Regions from separate parts of the Homo sapiens genome. Here regions 1, 2, 3, 4, 6 and 7 are each linked to region 5. Evidence: promoter capture Hi-C in 16 types of primary human blood cells and fetal thymus (Javierre and others, 2016). All regions are on one chromosome and are shown on one strand. Each heading gives the region's core, a stretch centred on a gene start or on the middle of the fragment in contact. The rest is flanking DNA. Distances are from core to core; before and after follow the strand shown.

Region 1 (3,788 bases), core at 313-2,812, 1.2 Mb after region 5:
TAGTTTTAAGATTTGACTGCCTCACTGGATTTTGGACTAGCATGGGGCCTGTAGCCCCTTTGTTTTGGCCAATTTCTCCCATTTGGAATGGCTGTATTTACCCAATGCCTGTACCCCCATTGTATCTGGGAAGTAACTAACTTGCTTTCGATTTTGCAGGCTCATAGGCAGAAGGGACTTACCTTTGTCTCAGAGGTGACGCTGGACTGTGGACTTTTGAGTTAATGCCAAAACGAGTTAAGACTTTGAGGGACTTTTGGGAAGGCATGATTAGTTTTGAAATGTGAGGACATGTGATTTGGGAGGGGCCAGGGGCAGAATGATATGGTTTGACTGTGTTCCCACCCACATCTCACCTTGAATTCCTCCATGTCGTGGGAGGGACCCAGTGGGAAGTAATTGAATCATGGGGGCGAGAGCAAACTGAGGACCAGAGTGGTTATAAAACTTGTCTGAATTCATACCATTTACAAAGTAAAAGAAGAGTCTAGAGCCCAGGTCTCCTGAGTCCTCAGAATCAACCAAGTCAAATAAGCTCCCCTATTCAAAAAGAAGAACCTTCAAGAATATTAATTTTGTGCCCATCTAAAAGCCTCACTGAGCTGTGCTAAAGGTAATAGGCATTGAAGAAAACGTTCTCACAGAAACTCCCAGCTGCAAACACAAAGAAGCAGCTCTCCAGGGAACAGGGTAAGGATTGTCTGAAGAGATCTATGCTGGTGAGATTACAAAAATCATAATATATGAATAAATGAACATATGGAAGGAATCAGCAAAGCCCTCTCATTCTTCCCGTATGTAAACTCGGCCTTTGCCTAAAGTCATTAAGTAAACACAGATGCAGCCAAACCAGGCACCAGATGGCAAACAAGAATTGGAATAAAAGGTAAAGAAAGCTTTTGGTGTTTACTCAAAGATGGGGAAAAAAACCATGATCCAAAATGCTGTGGTTTCCCCAGAATGGCCACCTGGAGTCACCAGGGCCCAAAAGTGACCAAATAAAACAAAACAAAACTAGAATAATCATGATTGGGAAGTTGTAGGAAAACCGCTGCTATCTTCTGTGAATGGAATCCCATGTCAGAAGAAACTGGTTATTCTGGGAAATGAAATAAATGGTTAAATCAAAGTACTAGGACCAGAGAGCAACAGGAATGTGGCAAGAATCCACTTTTGCTGGGCACTCACATCTGTCCAGAGCTTTGTATTCTTGGCCTTATATAATCCTCACAATTACCCATTAGGTATTGGCCAAATTTTATAAATGAGGAAATTCCATAAATGGGTTGAGAGAGATTAGGCCCCAAGGTCACACCACAGGAATGCCATCCTAGCTGTGGCCAGTGCTTCTTTGTCCATTCCCAGCTTCGTAGCTCTGATTTCAGTACCAGATACAGGGGAATCCAGGCACATTCTCTCTGCCTTTCCTGCCCAAACCACTGGACCTAAGTAAGAAGGTCACCTGGTCAGGTACTGCCTTGAAGGGAGACCAGAACAGACATGGAGTGGGGAACAGAGCATTCCTGAAAACTTAACTTCACCTTTATTTCACAAAAGACACCCTTGCACATGCCTCATCCACCTCTTAGCTTGTACATTTGCCATGAGCACCAGTAATGAAGGCAGTCCTTGTGAATATTTGCTTTTCAGTATGCATGAGTTTATATATTGGGGGTAGAAAATTCCAATAATGTTTCAGCTTCAACTAAAAGCTGTATCTTGTTCTGTCCTTGCCTCTAACCTGACAGATTATTTTTTAATTGCTTGGTAGAGATAAGTTTGGCTTCTGCAAATAAACTAGCAAACATTTCCTGCCCAGGCTACCAAACACAGCCTCACCTCACCTATCTGGCCATATGTAAAAACGTTCATTCAAATAAGTTTTGTTCTTTTGAGTTTTACTCTCCCAAGCGCAGAAACTGGGTAGTGAGGGGTGCAGGGGTATGGGGAGAATGGTTTCAACCAAACCATTCATTGCTTGCAGGTGGGAAGGTAAGGTGGAAAATGCTTTCCAGCTAAACAGACCTGTCTGATAACCCTACCACTAACTAAACTTGCTCTCTTGGGCAGGCCACATTATGCTTTGAGTTTTAGTTTCTTTCTCTCTAAAATGTACGTGGAAGGGCTGTTTTCAGAATTTTTTTTTCACTTTCCTCTTACCCATCTTCTCTTTTTCTACATGGTCAATCTCCACGTGGCTGTTTTATTTTTTCCCCATTGTTCTTTAGCAAAGCTTAATCCAGGATGAATTCAGCTTTGTGGACACTATAAATCAAAGCCATACAACCATAAGGCAGGCTTCTACCACTCTATACTAATTGTTACCAGTCTCTTAGCCCTGGTTTCTGGTTGGGTTTGGCCAATGGGCAGCCCCAGCAGGAACCTGGAGAATAATGAAGTTGTTTATTCCCCCAGCGCTCTCCTTGCTGGGTTGACGCAGGTTAGCTACATCCATCTACCATCCTTCTACAATGGACCACAGTTCCTGTGTGTGGCCCTTTCCCTACAATTTTGTGCATGATGGGAACCTCTCCTCCCTCCCTGTCCTCCTTCAGGCTAAGAGGTTGTAATGGCTCCTTACTGTTGGTAATCATTAGGTACTTGTTTCTTTACCTAAACCTTTTTAAACAACTCTTCTTGAAGCTTACTTCAGTTACCCAATGTGAGTGTCAATCTCTTTCCTAATAGGAACCTGAATAAATATATCACTTCAGCTCAATTTCCCATTTTCTACAATGACTATTATCAAACTTTGCCAATTTCCATCCCTGTCTTTCCTCTCATGTTCAGAGAGATGACCTCCTGTTTATTCTTAGCCACCAACTACCTCTAAGAGAAAAGCCATTAGAAAGACAACTGCCATTAAATCTCCCAGCTTTCTTAGATCCGGTAGTGAGCTGGGGCTAGCTCAGCCCTGCTCGCAAGAGCATATTGTGCACATCTCTTCCCAGCTTCACATCCATTCCATCACATTCAGAGCTTGAAACTGGCCAAGATGGAAGTATTTACAACACAGAAATTGGCAATTGATAAAATTAGGGCTTTCTATTGATTATTTATCAGTATTATTTATCAACACACCACTGCTTATATCCAGATACAGTCTTTTTCTCCTTCACATTTGTTACGATGAAAGAGATGGCCCACTTATTATCAGAGACTCTTTCATCTCCTACTGCCTCTAACAGCCCACTTAATTCATTATCCATTCACTCTATGTTTAGCTTCTTCAATACTATCTCCTTCTCATCAACATTTAAACATGCTCTAGACCTGTGCTATCCAACAGTAGCCATTAGTTAAACGTATTTATTGAACCCGCGAGATGTGGCTAGTCCAAATTGCAATATGTAAGATACACACCAGATTTCAAACATTTTGCATGAATAAAAGAATGTAAAATATCTCATAAATAATTTTTGTATTGATTACTTGAAATGATATTTGGGGTATAATAGGTTAAATAAAAACATATTAAAATTAAATTCACCAGTTCACTTACACTTTTTTAAGTGGGTACTAGAAAATTTAAAATTACTTGTGTAAATCATATTATTTCTGTTGGACAGTGCTGCTGTAAACCTTTCATCTTAAAAATAAAATCCCTGGCTGGGCACAGTGGCTCACACCTGTAATCCCAGCACTTTGGGAGGTTTGGATCTGTGTCCCTGGCTAAATCTCATGTTGAATTGTAATCCCCAGTGAGGAGGGCCCTGGTGGGAGGTGATTGGATTTTGGGGGTGGAGCTCATGAATGGTTTAGCACCATCCCCCCATTGGTACCACATA
Region 2 (3,582 bases), core at 633-3,132, 1.1 Mb after region 5:
AGTAGCCTTTTGCCCTTTGCTGCTTAAGCATGTGTTTCTGGATGAGATTCTGATTCCTAATTAAATAGATTCAGATTACTGATTGAATTTTCTGAGTATCCTGTCCCATATGTCAGTGTCCCTCAGAAAGTCAACAGAAAACTTTGGAATGGTATAATAATTAATAATTGAAAGAAGAATTCAATTAAGAATATGAAGTTGGCCCTAACATTCATTATTCTTATTGCCACACCTGGTTAACAATACATTCTTTTTTTTTTTTTTTAAGAGTTTTTTCGACCCCTCCAGAAAAAAAAAAAAAATAGAATAAAACAAAAATAGATCAGGTTCTGATTAATTATAAAACCTCTGGTTTCAATCCAGTTTGCAGAATGATACCATGGGTATAAAAGTCAAAACATTAGCTGAAAATTGTAATTTTTTAAGGAAATTATTTCAATATAAGATACACATCATTTGACTCTCTTGTTCCTTACAGAGTGATCCAAGAACAGGACCTGTTACTTTCCATCCATTGTCATTTCATAGACCCCTTGAAGCAACCCAGTGGTTGGTAGCAGCAATCTTTGTGCAGATGAGGACTCTGAAGCTCAGAAATGTTGTATAACTTGTTTAATACAAAGCCCACGCTCTTTGTATTCCATCAGACCATATCCTGTAGATACATATACATTGCTAGGGAAGTACACTATGGCAACTGAGACACCTCTCACAAGGTGGTATCGTTTATAAAAAATAGCATTATGTATTTGTCATCATTGCTTGGTTGAGTGTCCAACACAGAAATAAAAATAAGCAGGGTGCCCTCTTTGGCATGGAAATATTCTAATTCATTTCCCCAGAGAATGACCATACTCACCAGTATTATTTTGCTCTACTTGTTTGCTTTTAATCATAATATATGCCTGTTTACTTTTTGTAGCTATAAAAAGGTAGATAAAAGAAGCACTTTAGGTAGATATAAAAAGCACTTTAATTAAGAACATGAATTAAAAGATACTTCAATAATGAAGTACAATAGATTAAGGAATACTTTAATAGATTAAAATAACTTGAATTAAAAGATACTTAAATGCTATTGTTATTAACACAAAGGTTTAGGCTAACAAAACGCATTTTCCCAAATATCTCTCTCACCTCCCCCCACAATTTTTATTCAGGAATGTAAGAATTGGGCTTTTATAAAAGCAACCAAGGGCTAAACATCTACTAAGTTCTTAGAAACTTTGAAGGATTACAGAACTCTCTTTCTATAATAAGGTTTACCTGTTTGACTTGATTTTGTTCAAGATGGCATTTCATACTGGTGTAAACCTAAACAAAAATGTGTAAGATTTATCTCATAGAAAGACGTGCCTGTAAGTAATTAATTCCTCACTCTAATTACTATTTATGCCTTTACTTTTTATTGTAAACATTCTTGTTGGAATAAACTAGAAATAGGTTTTTTTTCTTTACACTAAAATAACTCATGAATAGCAATGAAATCCATGCTGTATAATATTCAAATGAGAGATCAGGAAAGACAAGGCTTTTAGTTAAATCAGTAATATTCTGTGATGGGGAAAATTGCCTTGAAAAATACACACACACACACACACACATGCACACACACACACACATACATACTACTAGAAAAAGTTTGAGGTTCGATTCAGAGTGTGGAAGGTACAGTGTCTTAAAAGAGTTTCAGTTGCAGCATTTAGGCAGATGATCAAGAATATGCAGAAGAAAACAAAAGAAATCATAATTATAGTTTCCTAACAGAGGTATTTGATCCTCTGCAGTGAACCATAAAAAACTAGCGTGGGATCAGAATCTTGAGTAGCATGTATTTAATTGTATGCATTTCAAAGAAATTTGAACATTTTAAAAAGTTACACCATATGAAAAATTGTATATAAAGACATTTTCTATAATATTATAATAATTTTACAAATGAGGAAACAGGGTTAGAGAGAGTAAGTGAGTTACCAAAGCCAATGGCTAGAAAGTGAGAGAGGCAGAATCCAAGTACTAGCCTGGGATTCCCAAACCAAAGACTGTTCAGCTCAGCCACAAGTGGAAATGGATTCTTATGGGGCTAAGTGATTACCATTACTTTAAAAACTAGTATCAGAAATAGATGACAAGAATTTAAATGTATATCAAAATATCCCTTTGGTAAATGTTAGTGTCCTCACAGGTAAACAGAGGGCACCCTCAAATTTGAGTAATTTGAGAGGGTTTAAAAGAGGGACTGTTTACAAAATTGCAGTCATAGAGACATAGAGAAATCACAGGGAGAATGTGACCCTCGGGTTTGTAACAGCTGGGCCTGTAGAGGCGAGGGAAAAGTGCAGTTACTGGATGCCCAGAACAGAGGGCTGTGTGGAGACTGCACAGTGACCCTGGAAGAAAAGGGCTGCACTGTTAACCCTATTCTCCCTCTCTCTAATCTCCTGCCTGCCTCACCATTGGCTGGAATCAGAATCAGAGAGCAAGGGAACCTGTTGATGTATTCTGTAGAAGGCCACATCTCTAAGCTCAGAGGAGGGTGGGAAGGAATCTTCAGAAGCACTTGGAGACATTCAACTGAGTCACCCACCCTGGACTATTCAGAGCGGTCTGCAGACTAGAGGGCAGTCTCTAAATGGTTTGTTCAGATTTGCTATGAAACAAGGAACTTGCATCAGAATGTAAATCAATTATGTCACCAAGTGTACTGTTTAGTTCAGCTGTCATTTTATTCATAGCAAGATGTTCTCAATGAAGGAACCGGTGTGCTGGCTTACATCCTGGGGCCAACTCCTTTCACCACAGATGGGCCCTTTGAATAGCACTAAACTAGATTCCTTGCTCTGTAGGTAATGATAAAAACGCTGGAATCCCTTTCCTTGTTTTGATTTTCCTACCTTAACTTCTGCTAAAGAGAAGAATAACGAGTATTTTTCTGTACCTACCCTGAGCCTGGCACTGTGCTAAGGTACTTTAGATGACATTTAATTCTTGCAAGTTAGATTATTCACTTCATCTTTACAGACAAGAAACAGGGCCAGAAAGTTTAAGTAATGTGCCTGTGGTCTAGCAAGTGAGAGAGCCAGCACTCAAATTCAGATCTTACTCCAAAGTCCATGCCCCTCACTGTTTGTAGGCTATCCCAGGACTGTGCTTAAAATTATCTGACATTAACACCAAGAAATAAAGCAGGGTTGTTGGGGGATTGCCTTATATGGAGACCTATGACTATGTTCTGTATACATATGCTATGCATGATTCCTGGGAATAGATAAAACCCAGCTCCCCCCAAATCAGATGGCACTGTTTGTGAATACGATGTTACTCCACGTTACAAGGCCTTGTCCAGCCCAGCCAGCCAGGTCAGAGATGAATTCAGTTTGTTTCTAAGTGGCTGTTGTCTGTTGCCATCTCTTTTTAAACCTGGGAGGTCAGGAAGAAGATAGGGAGAAAGAATTCATGAGAGGGATGCATTTCCTTAGAAATGTTATTAATTGGCTGGGCAAAACAAGAGAAGGAAATAAAATAGCTGCTCCTTACTAAGTAAAGGCATCTTCTTCCCTTATCTCATTAAAAATTAAAAGC
Region 3 (3,616 bases), core at 1,025-3,524, 1.2 Mb after region 5:
GAGTCCCCCTAGAATCAAGCAGTTATTAGATGGGACTTTGGAGTGAGTGTAGAAAAGAAAAGGAGGAGGAGAAGGAAGAAAATGAGGAAAAGAGGAAGAGGAGAGAGAAATAACAAGTCAAATAGGTGGAGAGTTTTGAAAGTTACAAAGTCTGTGCCATTTAGCATGAGTTATTTTTCCTTTTTATTCCTTGTATTTGACATATGAAAAGAAATCTTTGCTGATACTGGCTTCAGATTCTCAGGTTTAAGTATGCTATCCTTGACCCAGGAAAGAGTTACATGCATCATACTTCCGAGGCCTTCAAAGAACAACTTGGAGCAAGCTTGAGAGTTTGCAGGGCATTTTGGTGACATTTCTGGATGCCCTTTGTTTCCCCCTTTCAAGAAAAGCCCTTTCTTTCGTTGCCTTCTCACATAACAGCTTGGGATTCTTGTCCCTCCCAGAAATGCATTTGAACTTGCTGGGTTTGTTAAGAGTCAGGGCATGAAGCATTTTTCCATGGTAGAAAAGTTCTGGCATTCCAAAGCAGAACTAATGTGGGATTTGGGAAGCTTGCCCTATTTGTGCACTTAATTAGAGCTCACCAAAAGCAGCTGATCCATTGGTACCATAAAAAACCAATGCTGAGACCAAGGAAGGCTAAGACTGTGAGTACCCTTAGAGGGTGGTGAACATGAATTCCACACCTGTTCCCTACTGACTGGAATCAGGATTCAAAGGCAAAAAGTTGTGTGCTTTCCAGCAACATTCATTGGGATCCGCAGCCCAATTTAATCAATTGATAGGTTGCCAGTGTCTAAGTCAAGTCCCGAAACACTTGGTTCCCCTTGGGTCAATGAAATTTGGTCTTGGTTCTAATACAAACTTTAAGTTGGCTAAAAATGGCTGAGAAAACTACTGGTTTTAGAGTCAGTCAAGCCTGTGCTCTAAGTCTGACTCTGCCACTATGAGATGTCAGATCTTGGAGAAACTGTTCAGTTACTTCTGAGCTTTAGTTTGCTTCCCGGTAAAGGGACATACTAACACCTATTCCATGGGTCCATTATATACACAACAGCCAACATTTGTTGAGTAATTACTATGTGCAGAGCACTGTGCTAAGAGCACAGTCTATGTTAACTTTTTAATCCTCATACAGACCTAAGGAAATAGATTCTATATTGGAGATTGGCAAACTACTCCCCACAGGCCAAATTTTGCCTACTGACTGTTTTTGAAAATAAAGTTATATTGAGACACAATCACATCCATTCATTCACATAGACCCTATGGCTGCTACTGTGCTACAACTGCAGAGTTAAATAATTGTGACAGCGACCAAATGGCCCATAAAACCTAAAATACTTACTATCTGGCCCTTCATAGAAAAAAGTTTGCCTCTGCTTTAAATTATCTCAACTTAAAGATGAAGGAAATAAGCCAAAGGTATTAAAACCTATTTTAAGTAGGTTAGCTGGGGCCACAAAGCTGGTAACAGGTAGGACTAGGATTTGAATCAAACAGCCTGACTCCAGAACTTGTGTTAGTCACCAGTATCTTATATATAATATATATGAAATGCCTAGCATAGTACCTAGCACACAGGAGATACTTAATACATCTGTTTTATTAGCATGGTATTCCCTTTCTTTTTACCTCCTTTCCCAGTTTCCTATCAATTCCAGTTACCTTTTGCTTTTCTTCTGCAAGATAATTCAGTTAAGCATATTTCTGGCCAATTCTATGCCCATGATCTCAGTCTATCCAACAACTCTATGAGGTTGGTATCATTATTTTCATTTAAAAGATGAAGAAACTACATCTTGATCTCTGAGCTCCCAGGAATCTTTGCACTCCATTTGGGGACCCTCAGAGGAAACGTTGCTAGGAACTTTTGGAACATTTGTTTTATGCGGCAAACTAGCATCAAAGAAAAAAGAATCTCAGTGGCTGCTTGAGAAAGGATTACAATCTAATTAGGGAGACAAAACCAAAATACTGAGACAACAGCAGGCATTTTAAAGTAAGTTATTTAGTACAGACAGTAAGTGAGTGTGAATTCAGAGAGCTGGGAACAAGAGAGCGGACAGGGGAGGGGAGGGCTCTCAAGTTTCCTGGTCAAATGTGAACTGTGCCTTGAATGACAGACTGAATTTAAAAAGGAGAGGCTCAGATTCAGGCATGATGGAAGCGGGAAAAGGAACCACAGATTTCCTGCAGAAATGGAAGTGAGAGCTCTCAGACGGACAGAATCAGCAAATCCCTGGGAACTGTAGAAAATCAGAATGAGTAAATAATGTGGTGACAGATTCTACAGGATTTTGAAGGCCAGAGAGAGGTACCTGGGTTTCAGAATAACAATAGTGATCATCATAACACTTAGTTGCAGGATTGCTGACCACACACATTTCACATATGCTCGCCCTTAACCCTCCTTGTCCATTCTGTGATGTAGGTATCATCCTGTTTTACAGATATGAAAATTGAGGCTTAGATTATAGCAATCAAAGGTTGATGGGAAAATTAGAAATATTCTGCTTACTTAGTTCAACAGTGCAGAGCTTTTGTGTTGTTACGTTCTTCCTTGGATACATGTGCTTGTCGTTGAGATTTTATAGGGTAATCTATATACCCTATAAACCCATTTAATATAATCATAGGTTCTGCTTGTTCTAATACTGTTACCTATAAACAATTCCCCATGGACTCAGATGGAAAGTGCCATGAATTAAAGACCTTACACTACCTGGACCACTCTGATACTGCCCACCACAGGCAATGGGCAGCTATGGCATGGTTTAGAGCATAGGATACCATAATGAAAAGGATCAGTTCTTTCAACAAAGGCCGGATGGGAAAGACAGGAAGGAGGAAATCGTGTGAACCCAGAAGTGTGATATTCGATGGAGAGGCAATCCTGGGATGAACACCCAGAGCTTGGGTTTGGGATGGCTGAAGAACTTATGCCAAGAAGAGAAGGCACACATGTAGATTGAGAAGGCCATGACCAGCACTGCTTAAGTCTTACCACTTAGTCATAGTTGAGGGACATAAGACTTGAAGTATGGAGATTTAGGCTCAAGTCCTAGTCTCACGGCTACTGGCACTATGTGAAGAAGGACGGAAAAGGCAAGAATTATATGCTGATTGAGTTATGCAATATATTGTGTCTTCCCATCAATAGCACTTAAGTATTTCTGTGTGCCAGCACTTTCTAATTTCTCTTCTAATCGCTTAACATATATTAACTTATTTAGTCTTCAGAGAAACCCTATTAGATTGGGGGTATTATCATCTTCTTTGTATAGCTGGGGAGACTGAGGCACAGAAAAGGTTAAGTAACACACCTATGGTCACACAGCTGGTATGTAGAGAAACTACACTTTGAACCCATGCAGTTTGGCCCCTGAGTCCATGCTCTTACTTACTGTCACATTACCTCTCAGGAGAAAACAGGATAGGTGTTACGAGCCCAGTTTTACAGATGATGAGACTGTGGGTCCAAGACCATAAGGGATTTGACTAAAGATCAAACAACTAAACAAACTGTTACGCTGGCATTTGAACTAGGTCTTCCTAATTCTGATCCAGACATTCTTTCTATCAGATCACACTGCCTCCTGTTGGTGTGAAA
Region 4 (3,969 bases), core at 1,147-3,646, 1.2 Mb after region 5:
CATTATTATGTTCAGTCCAAATTTATATGTGGCTCTGGAAGAGTCACTTAAATGTGCTTTGAGAAATTTGGTGCATTGAAAGACACTATCAACAGAGTAAAAAGGCAACTCACAGAATGGGAGAAAACATTTGCTTATCATACATCCAGTAAGGGATTGATATCCAGAATATATAAATGTATAAAGAACTCCTAAAACTCAACAACAACAAAAAAGCAAAAACAACCCAATTCAAAAGTGGGCAAAGGACTTGAATGAATATTTCCCCAAAGAAGATTTATAAATGACCAGTAAGCACGTGATAGGGTATTCAACAGCACTATTAGGAAAATCAAAACTACCGTGAGGTACCACCTCACACATTAGGATGCTACTATTTTAAAACAGAAAACAACAAATGTTGGCAAGGATGTGGAGAAATTGGAAGCTCTGTGCATAGTTGGTGAGAATGTAACATAGTATCGCTGCTGCAGAAAACACTATGGCCATTCTTCAAGAAATTAAGAATAGAATTAACATGTGATTCAGGAATTGTATTTCTGAGTATATACCCAAAAGAACTGAAAGTAGGGTATGGAAGAGATATTTCTACATTCATGTTCACAGCAACATTATTCATGATAGCGAAAATCATGAGAGCAACCTAAGTGTTCATTAGTAGATGAACATATAAATGAAGAATGATATGTGCATACAATGGAGTATTATTCAGCCTTAGAAAGAAGCAATTTCTGACATGCCACACATCAGTGAACCTTGAGGATATTATTCTAAGTGAAATAAGATAACCACAAAAAGACAAATACTGCATGATTCCACCTATGTAAAGAATAAGGCCAGTGCACAAAGTTGTGGCAAAGTTGTCAGTATTAACATTGTAAATCAAGTGTGTGTGAAGGGGTGCTCACCTTAGCTCCCTTCTAGATATTTTGAGATTCTAAAGTCAAGAAATCTATCTCATGTAGTGAAAGAATTCCTTACCGTTATATTGTCACAGAGCATCATTAGTAGGAGCAAATTGTTCCTAAAATAATTCTACAACTAATAAATTTGGATGCTCATAGAGTAGGTCTTAGTAGTACCTACATATAGCTATATTGATGATATTAAAATATTAATTATCTAAAATTTAGTAACTAGCATTTATATCACTTATTATGAGTCAGGTACTGTTCTAAATGCTTTTCATTTATTTCCACATTTAATCTACAACAGCTCTGCTGAAGTAGATCCCATAATTATCCCCATTTACAGATGGAGAAATTTAGGCAGAAATAGTTTAAGTAACATATCCAAAGTCACACAGCTAATGTTAGGCCACATTAAGATTCCAACCCAGGCTTTGGAGTTCGCCTTTTAACCCTGTGCTTGGCCCCGTCACAACTCCTACGTTACCAGAATGCTTACAGTCTAATAAATATTGGGTAGGGGACTCCTACTAACATAGCTATGTGTGACAAGTAGAAGTCCCTGTGTGTATCCAAGGTTACTCTTACAACCTCTCTCTGCCAATGCACAACTTTGCACCAAAATTTCATCATGAGGACTCCTTTTCAGAGCACCCCAGAATTGAGCAAGACATGCTAAACTGGCTTCTTCACCCCCTCACCCCATGTCAGCTTCCCAACCAAGAGGAGTAAGGACAAAGTTGCAAGGCTGCAAGTATAATTTGTCTCGGTTCCTATTATTCCTTTCAGGATTATGATGCCAGAGCAGCTTCAGCTGTTCTGCTGTCTGATTCATGGCCAATACCAGTTCTAACAGGTCTAACCCAAAGAGTCAGCCAGATAGGACAGGGAGAGCAACGGCCACTGTGAGATGTCTGGAAGGCGAGCACAGCTCTAGAAAAGGCATTAGCTACATTTCCATGGGGTTTTGCTCCTGGATAAAGCAGGTCACAAGGGAAACCTAGATGTGGAATCTGCAAAAGGGCAATTAAAATGTTCAGTCTTTGTCCTTGGTCAGGCTGTGATTTTAGGCCAGTCATCAAACCTGGGGCTAGTTATATAGGAAATACTTATTGAAGCTGGCAATGTGAAAGAGTCTCCATTAAGTCCGGCCTTTTTGTATATACAGTAGAAGCTTTGAAGTCAGACAGACATGAGTTTGAATTCCAGCTCTGCCAGTTTTTATCTATACTACTTTGTATATGCCTCTCATTTAGGAATTTTTTTTTTTTTTTTTTTGATGGAGTCTGGCTCTTTCACCCAGGCTGGAGCGAAGTGGTGCAACTCAACCACTTCACAGTGAACGGGGGACGGTTCACTGCAACCTCCGCCCCCCGGGTTCAAGCAATTCTCCTGCCTCAGCCTCCTGAGTAGCTGGGATTACAGGCGTCCACCACCATGTCTGGCTAATTTTTGTATTTTTAAGAGATGGGGTTTAAATGTTCTTATTTCTAAATTGGAGATAATAAAACTTCATCCAGGTCACATATAATAGGTCTGAAACATGCTAATTCATTGCCCAGGATGCTGTAAGCATTCAGAATCTAGGTGTCAGCATCACCACCACACATATATTTCCATTCTTCTAAATGTACAGGGAAGCCCTGTGGCAGTTTTGTCTTGAGATCATTCAACATATTTATATTTCTCCCACAGATACTATGATAAGAAATACCAAGTATTCCTGAAGCTGGTTGAACACCAGAAGGAGTATTTGGCGATCATGAATGATGACTGAACAGGGCTTGCAGGTGCTGATGCCAGAAGCTTCTGTGCCATTGCATTAAAGACTTGTCATTTGATCCATGTTCAAGACCCTTGAGGTATTGTTTCATCATTTCTGTATTGTCTTTCAATAAAGAAAACAAACATGTGCAACCAGAATTAGAGTCTTCATTTCAAAATACCGCTATTATTTAGTTTCAGTTTCCATACAGTCTCCATTATAGTAACAGAAGTTTCACATAGGGTCATAGGATCTCACATGAGACTAGACCTTGGGGGCTATTCAATCCAGGGAAGGCCTGTACTTTTTTTTTTTTTTTTTTGAGACGGAGTCTCGCTCTATCGCCCAGGCTGGAGTTCAGTGGAGCGATCTCGGCTCACTGCAAACCCCGCCTCCCAGGTTCACACCATTCTCCTGCCTCAGCCTCCTGAGTAGCTGGGACTACAGGCGCCCGCCACCGCGCCTGGCTAATTTTTTGTATTTTTAGTAGAGACAGGGTTTCACCATGTTAGCCAGGATGGTCTCGATCTCCTGACCTCGTGATCTTTCCGCCTCGGCCTCCCAAAGTGCTGAGATTACAGGCATGAGCCACTGCGCCCGGCCAGGCCTGTACTTTTTAATCAATTAAATGTCAGCTATTAAATGAAAAACTTACATTACTTTAGGTAGGACATCTAATGCATAGTCGATGTCTTTTATGGCATTTTCCCCTCCTGTGCAGGATCTAGTCTAGGGTCAGATACCACATTTATTTGCAGAATTGTAATTTCACAATCATCATATTAAAGACAGGTATAGGCAGGAATCATCGATGGATCCAGGAGGGAATTTTGAAGAATAACAGGATATATGCATAATCTTAAAATATCTCTTCAGAATTTGCTTATTAGTTACAAGAGGAAAAAGAACGTTAAGTATACAGGGAAGAAATAGGACAACATCTTGATTAGGTGATCCAAATCAACTTCAGATGGGCAAATGGACATTGTGTGCCTCCAGATATGAGAAAAGAAAGAGCATTTTAATGCAGAGCCTGAATCTAATCAGAAGGAAACATCAGACAAACGCAACATGGGAAGCATTTTATTTTTTAATGGACTATATTTTTCAAAAATATCTATGTCATACTGACAAAGAAAGGCTGTGGGAAGTTTCCAGATTAAAGGAAACTGAAGAAACCTGATGGCTAAAAGCTTTTGATGTAGACAAGCACTGGGAAAACTAGCTGTTTTAGTTGATACCACAGCAGACACACAAACGCACACAGACATACACATACATATACATACATAAATA
Region 5 (3,734 bases), core at 1,225-3,724:
AACTGTATTATTATTCATTCATTCTGAAAATGTTTAATGAGTGCCCACTAAATGCTAGGCACCATAATGGATGCTAGAGATACTGCAGAGAACAAAACAGATTTTAAAAAACCCTCCCCAATTTGCAAAAATAGTAATGAGAAAATATGCTAGTATATACAAAAATAAATCTGAAAAAAGATACACCAAACTATTCACAATTATTTTGAATGGCAGGATGGTGGTTAAGAGGGATTATTAGTATTTTCACCTTATATATTTCTGTGCAGTTCAAATTTCTACGGGATGTATTATTACTTTTTTAAACCTCCACTCAGGCAACTATTTCTGTAATTCCCATTGTTTTTCTTTTCTTTTCGAGACAGGGTCTCACTTTGTCGTTGTCCAGGCTGGAGTGCAGTGGTGCCACCTCGGCTCACTGCAACCTCGCCTCTTGGGTTCAAGCAATTCTCGTGCCTCAGTCTCCTCAGTAGCTGGGATTACAAGCATGCATTACCACATCTGGCTAATTTTTGTATTTTTAGTAGAGACGGGGTTTCGGCAAATTGCCCAGGCTAGTCTCGAACTCCTGGCCTCAAGTGATCTGCTCACCTCGGTCTCCCAAAGTGTTGGGATTATAGGCCTGAGCCACCGCACCTGGCCAGCCCAGCTAATTTTTTAATTTTTTTCTGTAGACACGGTGTGTCACTATGTTGCCCAGGCTGGTTTTTAACTCCTGGGCTCAACTGATCATACTGCACTGCGAAGTGTTGGGATTACAGTCATGAGCCACCACGCCTGGACTTTCGTTGGTTTTCCATGGCTTCCACAAACTCCTTCATATGGCGAACCAGGCCCTCCTACTACTTCTCCAGGCACCTTCCCCAACCCTCCTTCACCCATTCCTAAATTCCAAACTCCCTGATTTACTTACACCCCACAGAAAAAGAAAGCTCTCATCTCTATGTCTATGCACATCTATTCACACTGCTTAGCTCTGCACATGACAAGCAAACTCCTTCTCATTTCTCATGACTTGTGTAAAAATTTTAAAAGAATCCTATTGACACAGAAGGTATAAGCAAAAGCCCCAACACTACGCATATATAATTAAAACCATTATCATTTCTATCACTGACAACCAAGTGTCGTTTTGAATAGAAACAGTGCCTGATATTTTGTAATACCCGGTTTATCCTGAAGAAAGGGTAAAGAATGAGGGAAGAAATCTATTCATGCATTTTCAAGGAGCCAATCACTAGACTACAGAGCACATAAGAAAAAAAAAAATCAGGGCTGACATATTCTCTTCAAAGAGCTGTGGCAGGTCAACAAACATAGCTGGCAGACTTCTAGGATAACAAAATTAATGATGTGAGAAAATTAAACAATTTGGATTGTTAGCCTCTACGAACATTTCAGATCCTTAATTCTTTAAGTACCATCTCCGAATGAGCAAGTGCAGCACTCACTGGCACTCACAGCTGAAGCCTGGAAGACAGTTTTAACAACTCTTGCTGAAAATGACTATTTCTTCTCTAGTTTCTATGGAAACAGCTGTCAGATTGGCAAAAATAGGACATGTACTTTAAAATAATCATTCAAGCAAAGTACACACATGATGGAAGGCTTTAAAAAAGAATTGGACGGCAGCAGACTTGGTTCTTAAGCTTCCAAATGTCAGACTACACCCCTTCACCCCGGCTGAGAATGACGGAGATGAACCTAAATCCTTTTAGCGAGGGTTGCACGACCTTGATCAACGCCTGAATGCCAAATAAGGGATTTTCATCTCCCTGGACTACAATTTCTTGTTGAGGATTGCACGGCACAATAAAACTGTTGCTCCACACACAGGCGACATTTAAACAGTATACAGTGAGTTCTGTAGACGAGTTTACGAGGAAATTGTTAAAACTCCCCGGAACTGCTTAGACGGGGAATGTTCTGGTTTGCCCTGCCGAGTTTAGGCTGGAAAACGTGTTCAGTTTCTCCTGAAGAGGGAAGGGGTGAAAGAGACGAATGCCCGACGCGCCGGGAGGCGGTCCCCTCTGGCAGAGGTGCCGGGTGAGGAGCCCGAAGCCCCGCGGGTGAGAAACCCTGCTCTGAAAGCGGAGCCGCGGATAAGGGCGGGCTGAGGGGGAGGGCAGGCGGCCCACGAAAGTACTGCCACGGGGCAGACACACGGGGTCACCGGCGTGCCCCGGGCAAGGCTAGGGGAGAACCGGGCTCCCCCAGGACAGATCCCCTCCGTCTCCCGCCCCGGCGCCCCCCGCCCCTCCCCTCCACGCAGCCTTATCGCCCACCCACGCCTCCTCCCGTACCCCCATCCCCAAGGATCCCCACTCCTTGCCCGGGCGCCCCCGCAGGCGCTCTGCGCTCCGCCCCCTCCCCACTGCCGCACTCTGCCTCCTCCCCTGGGCACGATCCTACTCGGAAAAGCTGGGGAAAAGCGTCACCGTGAGGACTGACTCAAGCAGAAGCGAAAGCGGTGACACCGCAGACCCGACCTATGCGCAGGCGCGCACCCGCACTTCCTGCCCGCCATACCGGCCGGGGCGCCCTTCGCTCCGCCCACACCCGGCAGTCAATACAGCCGCCCAGAGTCGTTCTCCCAGCTGCCCCGGGCCCCGCGGAGACTGTGGCGCTCTAGCGCCTCCGTGTGGCTTAAGGCGGGACATGGCCCTGGGCTGGGCTGCTTGCCTAGGAACAACTTTCTCCCGTCTTTGGTGAGTTGGGTCCTCTAAAGAATGATCCACGCAAGGCTGTGTCCGTTGTAGTCTCTACGGCAGTACCGGCCAAAAGGGAAGAGACTCGAAGACTGCCAAAAGACGAAGGCTTCCTGGTTCTGAATCTGCATTCATAGAAATAGTCTTTGGAGTATGGGAACAGTGCTTTCATATGATTTTTGGAGGGACGCATTTTAAGAAAGATGAAGTATAATCTTAAGTGTCTGGAGGTTAAAGTAGCTGGCTCCAAAATTATGTGTATAGTATGTTTCATTCATTTCACCAAAACATATTTCTTGAGCATCAACTACATTTTAAGTGCCAAGGATGTAGCAGTGAACAAGACAGACCTGAATTTCGTGAACTTTATATCACAGTGAGGAAAGACAGGCGATTAAAAAAAAGTGTACAAATAAACACAAATAAATAAAAGTGTACAAATAAGCCAGTACAAATAAACACTGGATTGTGATGGATGAGTAGTGAGGTCTCATATTAGTTTATTATGTTTACACTCTGTGCACAATGAAAACATCTCAAAGGACATAAACACTATGTCAAAGGACATAAACACTATGAACAATTTTAGGTATCTCTTTTGGAAAATGTGTAAGTTACTGTTTCGTTTATCTTATGTGTATTTTATGATTTGCCTTTTACTTTGAAAGGGATATCCTGGAAAACCCCTGACAACTGGACCCCTAAAAACTGAAGTAGGAGGTCCTTCAGTCTTCGTAGGGTTTATCTCCCAAACTCTGGAGTGCACATGTCTTACCAAAGTTTCCAGCATGCTAGCCACCTCTTGCTCATCTTGCCTGGTTAGCATAATGTCATTGGTGAAATAGATGGGTGTGATGTTCTCTGGAATTTCCAGTTGATCCAGCTCCTTTTGGACTGCGCAGAGCCATTATGTCATTATCCTGGGTCCACCTGATTTCCAAAGGGGCCAGACTGGCAAGTTAAGTAGAGATATGGCAGGGATGACCAACCACTCTTGTATATTTCAGGTCTTTAATTATGACATTA
Region 6 (3,942 bases), core at 158-2,657, 1.2 Mb after region 5:
TGTTTCTGTCAGAGTCAAAGCAGGAAATAGCTGCCAGCTGAGTATTCATAACAGGGATTTAAAAACTGGGAATTAATTACACAGAAGTGGAGGAACTGAGAGCCAAGCATGGGGTAGTGAGGCAACCCAGAGAATCATAACTGAAGGGAACCACTAAGACCCTAGGCCAGAGGGACAGAGGAAGAGGCAGTGTTACGGGCCCCTGGGCGAAGCTGGCATCCTGGCAGGACTGTTCTGGAGATGGCGCTGCTGGGGAGTTGCTGCCCAAGACAGAGAGGGAGGGGAGAAACATTCCAACTTCTCCCCTCTTCCCTCCCTCTAGTGTTCCACCAGTGCCTCCCACTGGCCAAATATGCAGAATTCAAGGGTCAGTCCCCTGAAATACAGAGCAGAGCAGGAGAAAGTGAAGAACCAATTTGAAGGCAATATGCCCAGGAGAGACCAATTGCCCTTGTTTGTCAACCTTCACCACTGCTCCAAACACAAAGCCCTCATACACACTTCCATAACAGTATCACTCCTGGCTTACATGCCCCACAGTTTTTCCTTATCCTTCTGCCATCCTTGTGCCAACCCACCAGCTATGCCTTACAGAGCCTCCATTCCACTGTAAACAAACTACTCTATGTCCTGCCTCTTCTTCAAATATTCTCTCTGACTTGAATTCAATCCTGATTCACACTTAGCAAAAAGCCCTGAATCATTTATTCACTCATTCAACAATGACATATTAAATGGAAATTATACCCGTAATAACTAACCTTGCATTGTTGTATGTGTTTTATATATATTAAGCCCTCCAATTCTCGCAACCACCTTATGCCCCTTCTATAGATGAGGAAACTGAGACAAGAAGTCCTTAAGAAACTTGCCACTCCCATAGTTCATAAATAGCAGGGCCAGAAATCAAACATGCATCCAGCCTCGAGAAACCACAGTTTTACCCACCATACATCACTGTTCCAAAAATGAATATACAGTAGTGAGCAACAGATAAAGTTTAGTAGAAGAAGACATTTTTAAATTTTCATTTTGTAATAATTTTAGTTTTACAGAAGACTTGCAAACAATAGAGAGTTCCATATACCCTTCACATTGCTTCCCCTAATGTTAACAACTCACACAACCATACAGTATTTATCAATACTAAGAAACTTTCATTGGTACGATGCTACTAACTAAATTACAAACTCTAACCAAATTTCGCCAATTTTTTGATTAATGTTTTCCTTTTCCAGGATCCAATCCAGGGCACCATGTTTCATTGAATCATCATATCTCTTTAGTTTCTCAGACTTTCTTTGTTTTTTGTGACCTTGACACCTTTGTAAATTATTGATTAGGGCCAGGCCTGGTGGCTTACGCCTGTAATATCAGCACTTTGGGAGGCTGAGGTGGGTGGATCACCTGAGGTCAGGAGTTTGAGACCAGCCTGGCCAACATGTTGAAACCCTGTCTCTACTAAAAATACAAAAATTAGCTGGGCATGGTGGCGGGCACCTGTAATCCCAGCTACTAGGGAGGCTGAGGAGGAGAATTACTTGAACCCAGGAGGCGGAGGTTGCAGTGAGCCGAGATCACACCATTGCACTCCAGCCTGGGTGACAAGAGCGAAATACCATCTAAAAAAAAAAAAAAAAAGGATTGGTTAGGCATTTTGGAGAAAGTCCCCGCATTTGGGTTTGTCTGATGTGTTCATATAAGTAGACTAGAGTTCTGAATATTTTGGACAAATGACATATTGGCAAAGTGCCCTTCTCACCACATCACATCAAGGATACAAGCTATAAACATGAGCTATCATTGATGATGTTAACCTTATTAATTTAGTTAAGGTGATACATGGCAGATTTCTCTGCTGTTAAGTTTCTATTTTTCCCTTTTCATATTCTGTTAGTTAGAAGTGAGTACTAAATCCAGCCCTCACAAGGGAAGCAGAGTTAAGCTCTACATCGTGGAGGAGGCAGCAACTACGTTTATCATTTGGAATTTGGCAGGAAATATTTATCCTTTCTCCTCCATTTATTTATTTATTCAATCATTTATCACTCAGTAAACATTCATGAATATTCATTTTATTTTTTAGGTTATATTCCAATACTGTCATTTATTTTGTTTCCCTAACTGGGGCAACAAGTTAGAGCTCCCACTGCCTAGCTTTGGCCAATGGGAGCTTTTTCAGGTTGACTACTGTGCCCTTTTCACATGTCCCCATTTTGTTGAGCCCTTCCTTGCATTCTGTCACTACAAAATGCTCCAGGCTTATCTTGGATTTTCCCACCCCTGCCCTAGAATCAGTGATTTCTCCAAAGAACACTGGTTCCTTTTATTGGAGAATGGTATCAGAAACCAAGATCTGGGTGCCGGAAGTGCTTCTAGTTTCTCTCAGTGGAAAAAGATAGAAAATACATGTATGTATATATACTAACCCATGTATATATACATAAAAAGACTTTGAATAAATGAAAGCACAAATGGGTTGTTATAAATGCTATGAAGGAAAATACCAGATTCTTTATAAAAGGGTTATAGATATGATTTAATACAAATGGGGTTAGGTAGAAGTCAAGATGGTCTTCTCTGCAGTTAAATACTTAAGGTGAAATCTATTGAATGACTAGGAATTAGCCAAGTGAAAGGGCAGAGAGACAGCAGTACAGGTAGAAAAACCATCATTTAAAAGAACACTAAATAGCAGGTGCTCAAAATGTTTGAAGAGTTGGATGAAGTCCATCGTGGTGAGAGTGGAATGATCCAGGGGATACGTGACCACAAGGGGGCCAAGGCTGGATCACATAAGACCTTGAAGGCCATGATAAGGAGTTCAGATGTTGTCATAGTGTAATGGAATGCCACTGAAGGGTTTTTAAAAGAGGAGGGAGTTGCATTCTACTTCACATAGAGTTGTAGAATCATGTAAAGTAGAAACCTCCTCAATTTCCTCAGCTCCTCAATCCCCACCCCACTACCCATAAGCTTTTCCCTGCAGGCACCCATCTGCAGGAAGCTTTACAGTTGGCCACCTCACTCTGGTCCACACCAGAGTCTTATCTTTCTGGTCTTTAGATTTCACCAGGCCACAACTATAAAATGACTTATATGAAAAATACTTGTATACTTTTATTATAAAATTTGCTGTCATTTACATTATTTGTTCATTCACTCAGTCTTTTCTAGGAACTATATCTGATGCCTCCCAGAACTCCAGAATCTACTAAATATTAAGAACAGTGTTTCCCTCTATTCCTCAGCTGCCAAGGAGCTCATGACTACATTTAATATACACACAATTGTATTTTCCTCAGCTATGAAATCATGATAAAATAGTTCTTGCCTTCCCCTTCATTGATTAGTTGCCTTTATAGTATGCTAGAATTATTTTACTATGCCAGTACTTTTATTGTAAGCTAATTGAAGATTTTTTGAAATTAGAACAGTTTTACCATTTTTAAAAATTAGCAAAAAAAAAAAAAAAAAAAGAAGAAGTATTTTCTGCCACTTGATAAAGGACTTTTCTCTTTAACACCAGTAACAGCCTCAGCATGAGGATTCTGGTAACAAGGAACCCCTGAGGTTGCTCTGGTTTTTTCTGAACAGCTCTAATTACTGTAAAGTTATTAAATGTTTATTGATTGTAGAACCAAATGAATAAACAATGGTCTGTTGTTCTACTAAGTTCAAAACACATTAAGGAAACAATTTGTTTATTAAAAGCATGGATTTTTAAAAGCATGGATCAAATATAAAAATAAAAATAGAAGGGTTTTATATAATATGTAAAGTAGTACTAATAGAATGCAATAAAGACAAATAATTATCCCCAGGGGAACACTATTACAGGCAGGCTTGATAATGATTTATTTTTTCTTTCCTTTTGTGATAATTATTCACTCATTGGTACTAAGAGATGCTGACAGTTCACTAACAAGATGATTGCTTTTG
Region 7 (3,773 bases), core at 121-2,620, 1.2 Mb after region 5:
ACATTGTACATAATTGTAAATCACCATTGGAGGAGGTGGTCCTGGTTGTATTCTTTTGTTTGTTTGTAATACACATAACATAAAATTTATCATCTTAACCATTTTTAAGTGTACGGTTTGGTGGTATTAAGTTCATTCACATTATTGTGCAACCATCACCACCATCCATCTCCGGAACTCTTTTCATCTTGCAAAACTGAAACTTTACCCGTTAAACAATAACTCTGCATTGCCCCCTCCCCCAACCCCTAGCAACCACCATTCTACTTTCTGTCTCTGTGAATTTAACTACTCTTTAGATACCTCATATAAGTGGAATCATACAGCATTTGTCTTTTGTTGACTGGCTAATTGCATTTAGCATAATGTTCTCAAGGTTTATCCATGCTGTAGCACGTATCAGAATTTCCTTCCTTCTTGGTTGTATTCTTAATGCAACATAGCTTGTTCTCTGTGATCTGCTGATTATAACCATCGTCGCTGTGAAGACTTTGGCGTGCTTAACATTTTTGTGACTTCTTTCCAGTGGGGGAAATAGATAGCTCAGTTGTGGACGATAGCAGCAATGGGAAGCAGTATTTGAGAAGAAATCAGACTCTCTTCTTCCAGTCTTTTGCAAGTAGGTGACACAAGAGGTAAACAGAATTGCATGCTGTGCCCCTCCACATCACCCCCTATTTTCTTTGTTTCTTCTGCCCAAGGCTTCAGTCAATCAGAGAAGCAATGAGAGTTGAAGATTTTAAAAGTGGGTTTTCAAATAAGACAAGCTTGGGTTCCAGTCCTACCTCTGAAACTTACTAAATATGTGATCTTGGGTAACGTGATTGAACTCTCTGAGCCTCAGTTCTGTAATCTGTACATAGAGATAATAATACTTTTATCAAAAAAGCATGTCTTTTTTTTCCTTCTGATTGATGAGATGCTTTCTGTATTTTTTCTGGATTTAAACATAGTTTCCAAAGTTAAAATATTAATAGTACTTTTCCCTGTCCCATTGGGTTGTTTAGAAATGTAATGTGATATATGACATTTTGGCCTCTCTGAGATGTCTTGTTCCAGCCCAAAGATTATTAGGGAACCTCATGTCATTTGAAAGGGGAGAAAGATAATTTATTGATAAGGTTCTGCATGTCATATGTATCATTTTTTTCTCATCAAAAACACTGAGTAGAACTCTATTATGATACTTGGTCCTTTACTTCATACTTTTCTATCTTCCCAGCTAGTCAGAACCATGCCCACCCCGCAGTTCCCACCCCTTGGTCAGTACCTAGCATTATGCCCAGAAAAACTACAGATGCTTCTTCACACTCCCCTCCAACCCCCACACCCCCATTACCAAAGTGTTTCTATAATGCTCTGGGAATCAGCATCTCAATTCCCCCATGGCCTCATGGTTAAACATACCATTCATTCGACCTCTCAACTGTGACAAAGAAGGAAGCCTGGGTGTAGAAACTGATTTCAGCTCCCCTCTGAAGTTGGGCGTCTCTCTTTGCTGACCACTTGGGAATTTTTTTTTCTTGCTTCTGACCCACCTCTCCCCTTTCTTTTGATAAACAGGACAGCTGTCCCCAAAGGGATGAATCCATTACCTTTCACCAGAGTTGAGTTCGTTTTCCATTTCATCTTTCTGCTTAAAGAGAAAGCCCTTTAAAAGCGCAGCGCATACATTGAGTGCGTGTACTTAATTTTTAATATGTGTGTGCCCACAGCCAAGAGAACAGAGAACCTTAAATAATAATGAAACTGAATTGTACATGTCGTATGTTTTATGTGGCACTGATTCCTAAATATGCTCCTAGCAGCCAGGTATTATTTAATACATCCCCATTAATCAAGCTGCCAAATCTAAATGAAAACCATGTTTAAATATGTTTAATAAGATTATAGCTTTTGGTTGAATATCAAACTAACATAGCTACATTTTTCCTTCCAGCCAGCTCTCATTTACTGTCTTACATTTTTACTCTGAAAGCTTTTGTACTATCAAACCAATCTTGATTATAAAACAAATTATACCACAAACTTTTAGTATCGTGAGCTTCAGCTGAGTCCCTCAGTGTAAATGTTAGGAGAAAGAACAGTTCTGAGATTTTTTTTCTGGCTAAAAAATGATATTTTTCTTCTTCTTGGGGTGAGCCTTTGAGTTTAAAAGGAAATTAAAAATTCAATTAGAGATACTAAATTGTTTGTAGCTTCTGTATTAAATGATGTCTGCCTTTTGCATAGTTATTGAAAGTGTTTCATATTAAATGTACTTTTTCTTTTTGACGGTTCAGGCTTCTGTTAGTTTTGCAATAGTGACACCTAGGGGCTGTAGAGAACATTGCATGGGCTGCTAAAATCTCAAAAACAACCCCTCTGCTCTTTTGCCATGGATAGAAAAAGTATTTGTGGGTCATTGGGGCTGATGGAGAAAGAAGGCAAATGGTACCCTGGGCGAGGTAGGTTTCCAGTTCTATTTACCAGGCTTCCAATATGCAAACAAAAAAAGGAGGTAAATAAAAAGAGGTTTTTATAAAAATAAAGAACTAGCTGAACTTGGAGTAACATACAGTATTCTAGCAGATTTTTAAAGTTATTGATAAAACAACATCATATTTATTAACATGTTTAATTCTCGTTCTTATTTGCAACAGTTTGCCTGCTGTTCTTGCCTTTGTAACAGGCATGTCCCGCGTTGATTGCAGAGAAGTGATGACTGTATGTGGTGCTTTGACTTGTTCTGTGCGAATGTCTCGCTTCTCACATCTCTAATTCTTCTATTTGCCTTGTTCAATATTCTATATCCATATTCACCCTTATAAAGTTGTCATTGAGACTTTTAGCCTATTTGTTCTCTCCACTGATATCATTATTTCTTCTAGCTTCTCAGAGCCCTTACATTTTCTCCATGTTTATATGGCTTGAAGCTTTTAAATTCTTGATCAAAGCAATCATAAATGTGTCTGTTACAAACACATTAAAATTCTTCGATTATATAAAAACTGACAAACAAGTCTTATAAAACTGTTTTTGTACTACATTAAGTTCAAAATAGGTGGCACATGTTTAACTTTGTACACTGTAGGAATTCTAAGAATCATTTCAAAAAGAAAAAGCAAATACAGTGCACAGCAATGCATATAATTCTTATAGATGAGTATTATCTATCTGTCATATCTCTCTGTAAATAATGATGGTGACAATGATGATAGGCAAAGTTTATTGATGTTTTTTATATGCCAAGCACTGTTCTAACCACTTTGCATGAATTAACTCAGTCACCATGGGACAGGAACTGTTATTATCCCAATTTTTACCCACATTCACAGAATGCTTCTGTGTTCCAACAAGGAAACTTCAACAAAGTAGTGCATGAGCTTATCACAGGTCGTGTGCAATAAGAGTTTATGTTATTAGTTTTTCCTTGAACTGCTTGGGAGTCAGTGTCACTTTTCTTAGCCCCATTAGCCTGCCCTCCCTTTGGAGTGTGCACGTCTCCTTTACTGTCTGATACCTGTCTGCTTTCCTCACTGAGTGCCTCTAGCTTTGTCTAGCAACACCTGCCCTCATAGAACTTACATTCAGTTGGGAAGATCCTAAGAAACAGCAATCACAACAAGTAATATTGATTTCAGGTAACAAGAAATGTTACAAAAGAAAGCAAAGTGATATCAGGGAGCAAAAATGGAATGACAGACTGGGTGTGAAGGGCTGGCTTTGTGAGCAGGAGAGAGGCCCTCCTGAGGAAGGGATGTTCGTGGTGAGTCCCAAATGACAGAAAGGAC

The links. The method cuts DNA at HindIII sites, captures the fragments that hold promoters and counts their contacts. A CHiCAGO score of 5 or more calls a contact.
Region 1: a fragment that was not itself captured here is called in contact with the fragment with the promoter of OMA1 in region 5 in 7 of 17 cell types (total B cells, total CD8 T cells, non-activated CD4 T cells and 4 more); the score reaches 9.5 in total B cells.
Region 2: a contact is called between a fragment that was not itself captured here and the fragment with the promoter of OMA1 in region 5, in 5 of 17 cell types (total B cells, neutrophils, naive B cells and 2 more). The highest score is 9.1, in total B cells.
Region 3: a fragment that was not itself captured here is called in contact with the fragment with the promoter of OMA1 in region 5 in 4 of 17 cell types (neutrophils, activated CD4 T cells, monocytes and 1 more); the score reaches 6.8 in neutrophils.
Region 4: a contact is called between a fragment that was not itself captured here and the fragment with the promoter of OMA1 in region 5, in 12 of 17 cell types (fetal thymus, total B cells, naive CD8 T cells and 9 more). The highest score is 13.7, in fetal thymus.
Region 6: a fragment that was not itself captured here is called in contact with the fragment with the promoter of OMA1 in region 5 in 7 of 17 cell types (M0 macrophages, total CD4 T cells, total B cells and 4 more); the score reaches 8.2 in M0 macrophages.
Region 7: a fragment that was not itself captured here is called in contact with the fragment with the promoter of OMA1 in region 5 in 11 of 17 cell types (fetal thymus, total B cells, naive CD8 T cells and 8 more); the score reaches 24.4 in fetal thymus.

Annotation. Positions count from the first base shown.
Region 1 is chr1:59,737,542-59,741,329 of GRCh38, forward strand. The region is part of intron 14 of FGGY (FGGY carbohydrate kinase domain containing); the gene reads left to right. Among named protein-coding and RNA genes, the nearest start is that of MIR4711, 6.1 kb to the left of the region's middle. The HindIII fragment of the contact is 1,337 bases long and covers 895-2,231 here.
Region 2 is chr1:59,680,201-59,683,782 of GRCh38, forward strand. The region is part of intron 14 of FGGY (FGGY carbohydrate kinase domain containing); the gene reads left to right. Among named protein-coding and RNA genes, the nearest start is that of MIR4711, 51 kb to the right of the region's middle. The HindIII fragment of the contact is 6,732 bases long and covers 1-3,582 here.
Region 3 is chr1:59,714,655-59,718,270 of GRCh38, forward strand. All of the region lies in intron 14 of FGGY (FGGY carbohydrate kinase domain containing), which reads left to right. Among named protein-coding and RNA genes, the nearest start is that of MIR4711, 17 kb to the right of the region's middle. The HindIII fragment of the contact is 3,444 bases long and covers 553-3,616 here.
Region 4 is chr1:59,759,900-59,763,868 of GRCh38, forward strand. FGGY (FGGY carbohydrate kinase domain containing) reads left to right here. Exons shown (of 16, transcript NM_018291.5): 16 at 2,604-2,831. The coding sequence ends at 2,685. Among named protein-coding and RNA genes, the nearest start is that of MIR4711, 29 kb to the left of the region's middle. RefSeq lists an enhancer at 2,854-2,903. The HindIII fragment of the contact is 632 bases long and covers 2,081-2,712 here.
Region 5 is chr1:58,544,252-58,547,985 of GRCh38, forward strand. It overlaps OMA1 (OMA1 zinc metallopeptidase), which reads right to left and starts at 2,475. Exons shown (of 9, transcript NM_145243.5): 1 at 2,452-2,475. It also overlaps a transcript of DAB1 not described here. RefSeq lists enhancers at 1,884-2,510, 2,724-2,913 and silencers at 2,124-2,213, 2,224-2,323. The HindIII fragment of the contact is 5,811 bases long and covers 1,648-3,734 here.
Region 6 is chr1:59,777,369-59,781,310 of GRCh38, forward strand. All of the region lies in intron 4 of LOC105378758 (a long non-coding RNA gene), which reads right to left. All of the region lies in intron 2 of LOC101926944 (a long non-coding RNA gene), which reads left to right. Among named protein-coding and RNA genes, the nearest start is that of HOOK1, 36 kb to the right of the region's middle. The HindIII fragment of the contact is 3,133 bases long and covers 1-2,974 here.
Region 7 is chr1:59,697,122-59,700,894 of GRCh38, forward strand. All of the region lies in intron 14 of FGGY (FGGY carbohydrate kinase domain containing), which reads left to right. Among named protein-coding and RNA genes, the nearest start is that of MIR4711, 34 kb to the right of the region's middle. The HindIII fragment of the contact is 1,211 bases long and covers 766-1,976 here.